Linked DNA regions of Homo sapiens: all the other regions are linked to region 2. Evidence: promoter capture Hi-C in 16 types of primary human blood cells and fetal thymus (Javierre and others, 2016). All regions are on one chromosome and are shown on one strand. Each heading gives the region's core, a stretch centred on a gene start or on the middle of the fragment in contact. The rest is flanking DNA. Distances are from core to core; before and after follow the strand shown.

Evidence for each region. Contacts are between HindIII fragments. The CHiCAGO score rates a contact against its expected background, and 5 or more counts as called.
Region 1: a fragment that was not itself captured here is called in contact with the fragment with the promoter of YEATS2 in region 2 in 1 of 17 cell types (naive CD8 T cells); the score reaches 5.1 in naive CD8 T cells.
Region 3: a fragment that was not itself captured here is called in contact with the fragment with the promoter of YEATS2 in region 2 in 1 of 17 cell types (erythroblasts); the score reaches 5.4 in erythroblasts.

What each region holds. Positions count from the first base shown.
Region 1 is chr3:183,105,744-183,109,486 of GRCh38, forward strand. LOC105374247 (a long non-coding RNA gene) reads left to right here and starts at 2,482. Exons shown (of 3, transcript XR_924772.3): 1 at 2,482-2,651. It also overlaps a transcript of MCCC1 not described here. The HindIII fragment of the contact is 1,801 bases long and covers 541-2,341 here.
Region 2 is chr3:183,696,176-183,700,020 of GRCh38, forward strand. YEATS2 (YEATS domain containing 2) reads left to right here and starts at 1,622. Exons shown (of 31, transcript NM_018023.5): 1 at 1,622-1,818. RefSeq lists a silencer at 1,527-1,996. The HindIII fragment of the contact is 10,471 bases long and covers 1-3,845 here.
Region 3 is chr3:183,141,729-183,145,478 of GRCh38, forward strand. All of the region lies in intron 3 of LAMP3 (lysosomal associated membrane protein 3), which reads right to left. Among named protein-coding and RNA genes, the nearest start is that of LAMP3, 19 kb to the right of the region's middle. The HindIII fragment of the contact is 630 bases long and covers 1,794-2,423 here.

The sequences.
Region 1 (3,743 bases), core at 191-2,690, 590 kb before region 2:
GAAGAGAGTGTTTTCAGGCTTGTATTCCTGATAACAAAAAGTGTCACAAAAGACTGCCAAAATTGGCCTGGTGCAGTGGCTCACGCCTGTAATCCCAGCATTTTGGGAGGCTGAGGCAGGTGGATCACGAGGTCAGGAGTTCAAGACCAGCCTGGCCAACATGGTGAAACCCTGTCTCTACTAAAAAATACAAATATTAGCCGGACATGGTGGCTGGTGCCTATAATCCCAGCTACTCAGGAGGTTGAAGCAGGAGAATCACTTGAACCTGGGAGGGGGAGGTTGCAGTGAGCCCAGATCGCGCCATTACACTCCAGCCTGAGCAACAGAGAGTCCGTAAAAAAAAAAAAAAAGACTACCAAAACTACAACCTTGCACAAAGGCCATCACAACCTTACACAAAAAATACTTCTGCAAGAACATGTGTCCAGCAACTGCCTATGGAACCCTGGACTGGCATCACCCATGTTATTCATCTTTGTAGCCAAGGATAATTATTTCAAAACAATTACATAATACTCCTCATGTTTTCCTTTAAAAAGCTTACTCCCATTGCAATGGCTTATTCCAAAATAAATATCTTTTTCTTTTATAGAGCCTCTCTCTGTTCCTTATTTAGGCTGATACTATAGAAAAACACATAATTTTAAAATGTTTTGTTTTGCTATAACTTCAAACTTACAGAAAAGCTGCAAGAATAGTACCCTTCACCTAGATTTCCCAAATGTTTCTTTGTTCTTTTCTTTCTTTCTTTCTTTCTTTCTTTCTTTTTTGAAACAGAGTCTCGCTCTGTCGCCCAGGCTGGAGTGCAGGGGTGCAATCTCAGCTCACTGCAACCTCAGCCTCCCAGGTTCAAGCGATTCTACTGCCTCAGCCTCCTGAGTAGCTGGGATTGCAGGCGCTCCACCATACCAGGCTAATTTTTGTATTTTTAGTAGAGACGGAGTTTCACCGTGTCGGCCAGGCTGATCTCAAACTCCTGACCTCAGGTGATCCACCCACCTTAGCCTCCCAAAGTGCTGGGATTACAGGCATGAGTCACCACGCCCAGCCCAAATGTTTCTATTTTATCGCATTTGCTTTATCTTTCTCTCTCTCCCTCTCCTCATGCAGATATAGATATATATGTGTACACACACACACTCACACATGCATACACTCACATTTTCTTTTGGAACCATTTGAAAGCAGGCTGCAGACATGATGCCTTTTTTTTTACCTCTAACTATGTCACTGCATATTTCCTAAAACAAGGAGATTTTATCACTTGCCCACAGAATATTTTTGAAGATTGTGAAGTTAACACTGATACATACTATTATTTATTCTACAGACCTACTTTGACTTTCAACAATTGTTCCAAAAGAAAACACTGTAGTGGCCAGGCGCAGTGGCTCACGCCTGTAATCCCAGCACTTTGGGAGGCTGAGGCGGACGGATCATTTGAGGTCAGGAGTTTGAGACCAGCCTGGCCAACATGGTGAAACCCCATCTCTACTAAGAATAAAAAAAAAATTAGCTGGGCATGGTGGCATGCACCTGTAGTCCCAGCTACTGGGGAGGCTGGGGCAGGAGAATCGCTTGAACCCAGGAGGTGGAGGTTGCAGTGAGCTGAGATCGTGCCTTTGCACTCCAGCCTGGGCAACAAGAGCGAAACTCCATCTCAAAAAAAAAAAAAGAAAAAGAAAAAGAAAAAGAAAACACTGTAGTACACATTGCATTGACTCTTAGGTCACTTAATTTGTATTGATTCCTCTGTTTTGTTTTTATTATTATTATTATTATTATTATTTGTTGTTGTTGTTGTTGTTGTTGTTGAAATGAAGTCTCACTCTGTCACCCAGGCTGGAGTGCAGTGGTGTAATCTTGGCTTACTGCAACCTCTGCCTCCTGTATTCAAGTGATTCTCATGCCTCAGCCTCCCAAGTAGCTGGGATTACAGGCGCATGCCACCACGCCTGGCTAGTTTTCTTTTCTTTCTTTTTTGTAGAAACGGAGGTTTCACCATGTTGGCCAGGCTGGTCTCAAACTCCTGACCTCAAGTGATCCGCCCGCCTCAGTCTCCCAAAGTGCTGGGATTACAGGTGTGAGCCACTGCACCCAGCCTGATTCCTCCGTTTTTAAAAAGATGCTGATGATGCTGATATTTTTTATGAATACAGGCCAGTTGTTTTGTACAATATCCTTGAATTTGGGTTTGCCAAAAATAAAATCAGATTAAATTTAAATTCTCAAAAAGATTATTGAGCATACAAAATAACAGTTCCCAAACTAGAGACCTCTGTGCAGCTTCCTAAATGAGGAAGTACGTTGATCTCTGTTGTGCAAATAAAGCTGCATAAGCTTGTTTGTATTGGCTTAATGTTATTACGCTGACAAGGAAGAAAAAGTGTGTTATGGTTAGGGCTAGCATTTTCAGGGAAATCAGGATAGTTTAGGTTTTGACTACACATGGCTGTGGGTTGTTGGCCTAGGGAAATATCCAAACTGTGGCCTCCAATTTTATTTTTCTTTAACCTGTTCATCTGGTATTTCCTCATGATTAGATTTAGGTTATTAGATTTAGGTAATTAGATTCCTCCCTTTTGGCAGGAATACCACAGAAGTGATGTCATACCCATTTCAGTGCATCATATCTGGAGCTACAAAATGTGAGTTTGTTCCATGATGTTAACTTTATCACTTGATTAAATTGGTGTCTGCCAGGTTTCCTCACTGTAAATATTTTTTTTTGACATTCCATATGGTTTTGTCTCCGAGAGGTAGAATTGTGTTTCATTCTCCACCACTCCTTCTCAACATTACTTCTGAATAATTTTCTGCACTTCGCAAAGTTCTACAAGAAACAGACATGACTTTAACAAGAAGTAATGTTTAAATCTGACTGAAGAAAATACTGGGGGGAGGAAGTGGAAGTGGAGGTACAGAGTTAGAAGCTGGTGTGCTGTTCTCTCTATAACTCCACCCACTGATCCTGTTTTAGATCAGGCATGATTATTTCCAATTTCTGGGGCAAGGGCAGTTATACTGATCCATCATCCTCGCACTTGCTCCAACCGAAGTGTAGAACAGCCCCAGTAGCCTCTTTGGTGTTCAATAGGTATATCTGGGATAAAACTAAAGCCCAAAGGAATGACCCATTACAGCATCATATGTATTGAAGGACTTTGATATGCTGGGTTTTTAAAAAATTTTTCTTTTAGGTTCGGGGCTACACATGCAGGTTTGTGGGGTTTTTTGTTTGTTTGTTTTGTTTTTGTTTTTGAGATGGAGTTTTCCTCTTTGTTGCCCAAGCTGGAGTGCAGTGGCGCGATCTCGGCTCACTACAACCTCCGCCTCCTGGATTCAAGTGATTCTTCTGTCTCAGCCTCCCAGGTAGCTGGGATTACAGGCGCCGGCCACCATGCCCAGCTAATTTTTGTATTTTTAGTAGAGACGGGGTTTCACCATGTTGCCCAGGCTGGTCTTGAACTCTTGACATCTGGTGATCCGCCCACCTCGACCTCCGAAAGTGCTGGGATTACAGGCGTGAGCCACCGTGCCTGGCCATGTGTAGGTTATTTATATGGGTATATTGCATGCTGCTGAGGTTTAGCGTACAAATGATCCCGTCACCCTGGTGAGCATAGTACCTGATAGTTCTTCAACTATTGCCTCCCTCCCACCATCTCTCCTCTGGTGGTACCCAGTGCCTATTGTTCTAATGTTTGTATAGATGTGTATTGAACGTTTAGCTCCCACTT
Region 2 (3,845 bases), core at 372-2,871:
GTGAGCCTTCTCACAGACTTGGACAGCCTTCCAAGCTACACCAAGGGAAGTCAGCTTCTAGCTTTCTTGGCACTTATCTGGGTATTTCTATGCTTTCCACCTCACTGTTAAACCCTAAGAGTAGGGGAACACCAACACACTCATCCTGACCTGTGACCTCACCCCCTTCTCCATGAAATTTGTTTATCTCCCCAGTTCCTATTATCTCTTGAGTCTTAGCTTAAGGTTCAAGGAAGCCTTTCTTAGTTTTTTTTTTTTTTGAGATGGAGTTTCACTTTTGTTGCCCATGTTGGAGTGCAATGGCTCACTGCAACCTCCACCTCCCGAGTTCAAGTGACTGTCCTGCCTCAGCTTCCCAAGTAGTTAGGATTACAGGCATGCCCAAATACACCTGGCTAATTTTTGTATTTTTAGTAGAGACGGGGTTTCACCATGTTGGCCAGGTTGGTCTTGAACTCCTGACCTCAGGTGATCCGCCCGCCTCAGCCTCCCAAAGTGCTGGGATTACAGGCATGAGCCACCGTGCCCAGCCAGGAGGATCTCTCGAGCCCGGAAGTGTGAGACTAGCTGTGGTGATAGTGAGACCTGTCTAAAAAAACCAAAATTAGCCTGGGGGTGGTGGTTCACGCCTGTAATCCCAGCACTTTGGGAGGCTGAGGCGGGTGGATCACCTAAGGTCAGGAGTTCGAGAGCAGCCTGGCCAACATGGTGAAACCCTGTCTCTACTAAAAATACAAAAATCAGCCAGGCGTGGTGGCGCGCGCCTTGTAATCCCAGCTACTTGGGAGGCTGAGGCAGGAGAATCGCTTGAACCCGGGAGGCGGAGGCTGCAGTGAGCCAAGATCATGCCACTGCACTCCAGCCTGGCAACAGAGGGAGACTCTATCTCAAAAAAAAAAAAAAACACAAAAAACAAAACACCACTTATATTTATTATGCGTTGATAAAAACATTAAATACATTAAAAATTTGGTAACATGTATGTAAAGTATAAAAAAAAAAGTGAACTTCCTAAACCCACCACTCAGCTCCAGTAGTAAATCGTTATACAGTGAGAAGGGATTGAAGGGGAACAGAAGTTCCCCAAGACCAGTTGGGAGGCTATTCATAGTCTTGGGCAGAGAGATTACAGGGTCTTGGGTAGGGTGGTAGAGTTACAACGAAAGAGAATGTTGGCCTCAAGTGATATTTAGGTGGAAAACTGGACTTGGATTGTCACTAGCTAGTGTGACTGAGATAAGTCTCAAGCCTTCCCTGCCTCAGTTTCTTCATCTGTAAAATGGGCTAGAAATAACTACTGTTATTTTGTATACCCAGCACTTAGCACATGGGTTGGCACAAAGATGGCACACACAAACATCATAGTCACTATTGTGATTAATAGGGAAGCTCATACACGCCGGCAGAATGAATATTCTGTCAAACTTGGGGTTGAAATTCGCCATCTTCTGGGGCAGGAAAGTGATGGACGACTGTGCCTTTGCAAGAATCGACGCCCACACTGCCCAGGAAGTGCCCTCGCGGGCCGGGGTCCCAGCCCGGACCAGCCCCGCCCCGCCCCGCCCCGCCCTCATCCCTGGGAGCTCCGCCCCGAGGCCGCGCGCGCCGCCGCGCGCGCCCCGACGCGCCCAGCTGCTGACGTGCGGGGCGGAACGCGCCGGGCGGGCTCCACCGCGCCGTGTGCTTCCGCAGGTTGCGGGGGTCGCTGGGGCCTTGTGGCGGGGCAGCTCCGCGGGGCTTCGCCCGCTCTCTCACCTCGCCGTGCTCTCTCGCGGCGGCCGGCGGGGCCCGCGCTGCAGCCGGAGACCCGGAGAAAGGGTGAGTGTTGGCGGGCGCAGGAAGGGACCGGCCGGGAGCGCGCCCCGCTCTCCGGGGCATTGTTTGGGCGGGGGCGGCGCGGGCACGTGCGCGCCCCTCCCCCATCGGCAGGCAGCGCGGCAGCGGGACCCGGTGAGGCCCCGGGGCCGAGGGGAGGGCAGGGAGGATCCCAGGTGCGGGCCGGGGAGCCGCAGAAGCGGGAGCCTGGAATTGGAACGTGAGTTGGGGGCTTCCTCTTCAGCGGGGCGCTGCGCTGAGGGGATACGGGACCCCGAGCCACAGCGGCCGGAGCTTTTAGGATGTTAAGCTCTTGGCCTTGGAGGCAAGATTTGGCCCCAGCACCAGAAAGTCGTGGGTTTACCGAAAGGATCCTGGAATGCCCCTCCAACCTGTCGCCATCCCCACCGGGCCTCCCTGGGATGGAGGGGAGGGGTCAGAGAGGCTTTGGGGGTCCAGGGATGGGGCCGGGGCCAACGCGCCGGAGCTGCGGGCAGTGCGGGGCGGAGTGGAAGCCTCGGAAAGTGAGGACTCCTGCAGGAAAGGCTGGCTTGAAGGGCTGTGGCCAGACTGCAGAAGACAATGAGGTTTTCTCCATCATGAATGTGATTATGTTAAGAAATAGAAACCAGAGGAAGAGAAATGCCATCAGCAATCTTACAGGCCTGACACATCATTTTTTTTTAGTTTGATGTTGGCTAGTATTTTCATCTAAGCATTCAGCAGTTACAGAGTTGACCCACGTTTTCCATTCCCTTTTCTCGCTCACATGTAAAAAATGCGGTATAATATTATATAGAATTCAGCAATATCATTTCCCCTTTCTTAATGAGTAGAGGGTATTCAGCGTAGAAAAATTTAAAAATACAAGCAAAGCCAGAGAAAAATGCCCGCAGTTTTACGATCTAGAGATACTACCCTTGGATGTATATTCCTGTTTGTGTATACTCTTTAAAAGATAGGGCAGATGATGCCCTGATAAGGAGTTTAGTTTTTCCCGGGAAGCCTTTGAAGGTTTTGAGAAGGCGAGTAGCATGATCCGACTGCTATGTAGAGGAAGAGGGCTGGGGAGGAACCTACGAGGTCAGTTACTGTGCTCTTTGCAGTAGCTTGGACTAGGCCCGTGGCAGGGAGATGGGGAAGTATAAACAGATTTTTAAATGTTTTAAGGTAGAATGAACAAGACTTGGATTGGTGAGGGAATGGTGGGAATCTTTGCTTTTTTGATTTTTGTTTTGAGCAACTGAGTAGGTGGTGGTGCTGTTTACTGAGATGAAGAATGGAAGAGAGAAATTTGAGGTGGGAAAAACGAATTCTATTTTAGATGTATTAAATTTTAGATGCATGTTAGTTATGAAGTCGGTGTGTTGAGGCAGTTGGATGTAGAGGGCTGGAACTCAAGGAGGAGAGAGGCTAGAGCTAGAGATAAAAATCTGGGAGTGGCTGGGCGCGGTGCTCACACCTGAAATCCCAGCACTTTGAGAGACCGAGGCGGGTCGCTTGAGCCCAGATATTCTAGACCAGCCTTGGCTACAAGGCAGGAAGGACCCCGTCTCTTAAAAAAAAAAAAAATTGGGAGTGATCTGTACGTAGATGATATTCAAAGGTATGGTGCTGTGTGAGATCACTGAGGGGAAAGAGTGTGGAGAAGTGAAAAGGGCGCAGACACTCAAATACCTCTAGGTCTGGTAGAGGAAGAAGGTTGGGGAAAGGACGCAGGAAACAGCAAGTGAGGTAGGAGAAAAAGCTCCTACCAAAATGGCATGTATCATGGCAGCCAAAAGAGGTGTTTCTGGAAGATGTTGAATTGGTCCTTTTATCAGGGCTTCTGAGATGTTCATTAAGATTGTCAATTGAATTTGGCAACACGGTGGTTATTGGTTTTGGTCATTGGTCTTCCTGTCCATAGTTCTGGAAGTGGGAGGTGGGAACCGGATGTGAGGAAATGAAACTAATGAGTGCAAATTAGAAAAAAAGTGCCCCATTTCCATCTGCCCCAAAACTAAACTTAATCGATGAAAAATGGTGTC
Region 3 (3,750 bases), core at 859-3,358, 550 kb before region 2:
TCTAGATCCTACAATTCATTGAATAGCACCTACCACACAATAGCTTCTTACCCCGTGTTAGGCACTGTCGCAGGCACTTCCAAGCACTTGCCTTATTTAATCCTCACAATAATCATGAGAGAAAATGAGGCTGGGTGACTTGCTCCAGGTCACAGCCCTAAGAGGTGGCAGGGGAAGATATGACCTCCAGCTCTGCCTGCCTCAAGTCTAGCCTTTAACGTCTCTTTCATACCCACTCCATGCCAGGGATTGTTCTTGGTCCTGGGAGAGGACCTGGTTGCCTCCGTCAAGGTGCTCAGTCTCTTGGTTCTTGAAGGCAAGTTGAACAATGCCTTTAGACAATCCATTTGCTTTAGGGAGAAACATCTCTTTTAAAAAGAGACCATCTTTGTGTTGCTTTAATATACCATTTATTTGGGGCATTTTTAAAATTTGGAGCCTCTTTTAATATAAGAGAGACTTATATTTCAGGGTCCACAGTCCGGGTTACAAGGCCCCCGCCCCATCCCTAAGGGCAAAGAGCGTCCATCGAAGGGTTTTAAGCAGGGCAGTGACATGAGCATAGCTTTGTTTTTGTAAATGGCTCGGGCTGCACTGTGAGATTGATTTGAGGAGCAGCAGAATAGTGATGAGGTCAGCAAAGACTCCTCAGAGGCCTCTTGGAATCTTCCCTTTGGTGTCTCCCTGACCTGTCCCTCCTAAAGGAAGAATGCTTGGCATTTCTGTGAGAGTTTCAGAATTCGCCACGTGCATGCTTTCACTGACATTGCCTCACTTGATCCTTACAACGACCCCGAGACAGAATCGATATTAACAGACCATTTTACAGCTGAGAACAAAGAGGCTCAGAAGAGTTAAGCATCTACCGCAGATGCATGTAGTTTGTAGGTGAGACAAAGCAAGATCCTGCCCTACATTTTCCTCCATGGGATGTGTGGGTATAGAACAAAAATTCATTATGTGAGAATTTACTTTCACATTCCCTGAAATGCAGCTGAAACCTATAACCATTGATGGGAAGCAGGACTGGCTACATAATGAATTTTTGGGGCTTAGTAAAAAATGAAAGTGCCGGGCCATGTGTTCAAAAATCAAGAATTTCATGGGGCAACAGCAAAGCATGAAAACAAGTCTGAGCCCTTCCGGATGCACAGGCAGAACACCTGTGAACCCGTCCCTGATGGGCAGGGCCACTGCTGTTCCACAAGAATCTGCGCTTTCTAGGGCTAATCAAAAAATGAGGCCTTCCGTAAGCAGGGTGCTCACATTCACTCTGAGTTCATCTTAAGGACACACAGGACAGAGTCTGGAAGCTGTACTCAGAATTCTTTCCATTTTGACTGAGTCAAAATTAGTGAAACATTGACTAGGACTAAGCTGATGTCTAGCTTTTTTTTTGAGTTGGGGTCTCCCTCTGTCGCCCAGGCTGGTGTGCAGTGGCAAGATCTTGGCTCACTGCAGCCTCAACCTGCTGGGCTCAAGTGATCCTCCTGCCTGAGCCTCCCAAGTAGCTGGGACTACAAGCACGTGGCACCACAGCCAGCTAATTTAAAAAAAATTTTTTTATAGAGATGGGATCTCACTATGGTGCCCAGGCTAGTCTTGAACTCCTGACCTCAAGAGATCTTCCCTACTTGACCTCTCAAGGTGTTGGGTTGACAAGGAATGAGGCTTGAGGTATAAGCTACTATGTCTAGCCATGATGTCTATCTTTAGAGTAAAGGAAAAGTATCTGTTAGGTGGATTCATGTAAACAAAAGGACAGGGGGATATTTAGTTTTCTTAAGATTACAAGCTTGACTTGACATGATCATACTTCAATTGTCCTACACATCTCTTCTGACTCACCCTTTCCATATGGTATTTAAGCCCTGGGTCTCAGGGTTAATGGCGTGGGGATATACCATCTTGTCTCATCACCATTCAAGACAGACATGGCTTCTGTTCATACATCCCTATTAAGTGTCTCTTTCCAAGAAAAAAAAAGATTCCAAGTTTTACACAATTTATGCTATGGAATGAGGCTTAGACAATTGTACCACTTTATTCTGTAGAATTGTAGTGTTACTGAATATTCTTAAAGGAAATAAAATCGTCTTTGGTAAACTTTTTTCCAGAAATATTTTAGGCTCTGTGGTCCTTTGTTAATCCGTCAAGGAACCTTAACATCCTCCTTAGCAAAACTGTGGGTCCACCAACATGTCTACCTTTCTGCAGACATACGGGGGTCTGGCACCAACCAGCCCAATTCATCCTGCCCAGGACGCCAGCATGCCAATAACCATGGGGTCCTAAGGTCCCCCTGTCCACTTCTGCAAAACACACCGTGGAAGTTTCATAGTCCCAGCTGTTCAGGATGTGGATTTTGTCTTCAGCATCAATCATGTCCTTTTCGCTCAGCATTGTTGTGACTAAATCAAGAAAGCTTTGTTCTGGACATAGCAAAAGGAACCTGTGATCTACTTTTTGGCACTTTGACCCAGAGTTCTCTGCAAAATTTAGATTTTCTCCTTCATTGATACATTTGTTTATCAAACATTGCTAAAGATATACTATATGCGAAGTCGGGGTGAGCACTAGAGAAGAGACGTGAAGGAGCCATAGACTTTGCCTTGGGGATGGCAAAATGTGTGACAAGTGCATTGATGAAGTTTGGGGAACAATGAATAGAGTTTCAGGGAACTAAGAGGAGGAAGTCTCTCATTTTACCTGAAGTGGAAGTGGGGAAGGGGGAATTTCACAGGGTGATGATATTTGAGTTATTTTAAGGATGGATGCTAAAGGAGCTGAGGGGTGGGAGGGGCCTTCTAGGCAGAGGGAAAAGTACCAGGGGAAAAAGAGCATGGAAAGTACAGATCACTTGGGGAGTTCTAAGTGTGCACTGTGAGGGTGTCAACACTTGAACACTGGTCACAGTCCTCAGAAGCCCAGCTCGTAGGCCAAGAGGGTTCCAAATGCCCCTCAAAGGCTCTGGAGACCAGTTTGAGCAACATAATGAAAACCTGTCTCTAGAAAAAAATACACAAATTAGCTGGGCATGGTGGCATGTACCTGTAGTCCCAGCTACTCAGGAGACTGAGAGGTGGAGGATCACTTGAGTCCAGGAGGCTGAGGCTGCAGTGAGCCTGATCGTGCTACCACACTTCAGCCTGGGTGACAGAGGGAGGCCCTTTCTCAAAAAACAAAAAAAGCTCTGGGGAAACAACAGGTGGGTCTGCAGCATTGATTCCAGGACCTCAGTCGGCCAGTGCACTGCCTGACCCTCGCACCTCTCCTCTCTTGATGGTTGATTTCACGAGCCAGGGCTGGAGACCTAGAGCTGCCCGGCCAAAGGGGTGGAGGAGAAAGGGATAGTCCTGTGCACAGAATGAAGTTACTGCAGAATGTTTTAAAAGCAACTATCCCACCAGGAAGGATGTTGTAGGGAGGTGTGGGGAGAGATGCATGTGATCTTGAACTGGAAGGGTCTGAACAACTTTCAGCATGTCACCCTAACCAAATGAGACACTGACAGGGAAAGGTTTTCAGTTCTTTAAAAAATGAAACTGCGGGAAAAAAAGAAAGGAAATCCACCTCTCCTGACCCCTCTAGGGGCCAAATACCACGCTGAACACTTTTACATTCTTTAGCTCAGCACACTCTCATGGCAGCCCAGCAAAATAAGCACTCGTTGGCTCCATCTTATAGAAGAGGAACTGAGGCTCAGAGATCATGAGCAGCCTGTCCATGGTCACAAAGCGAATGATATGG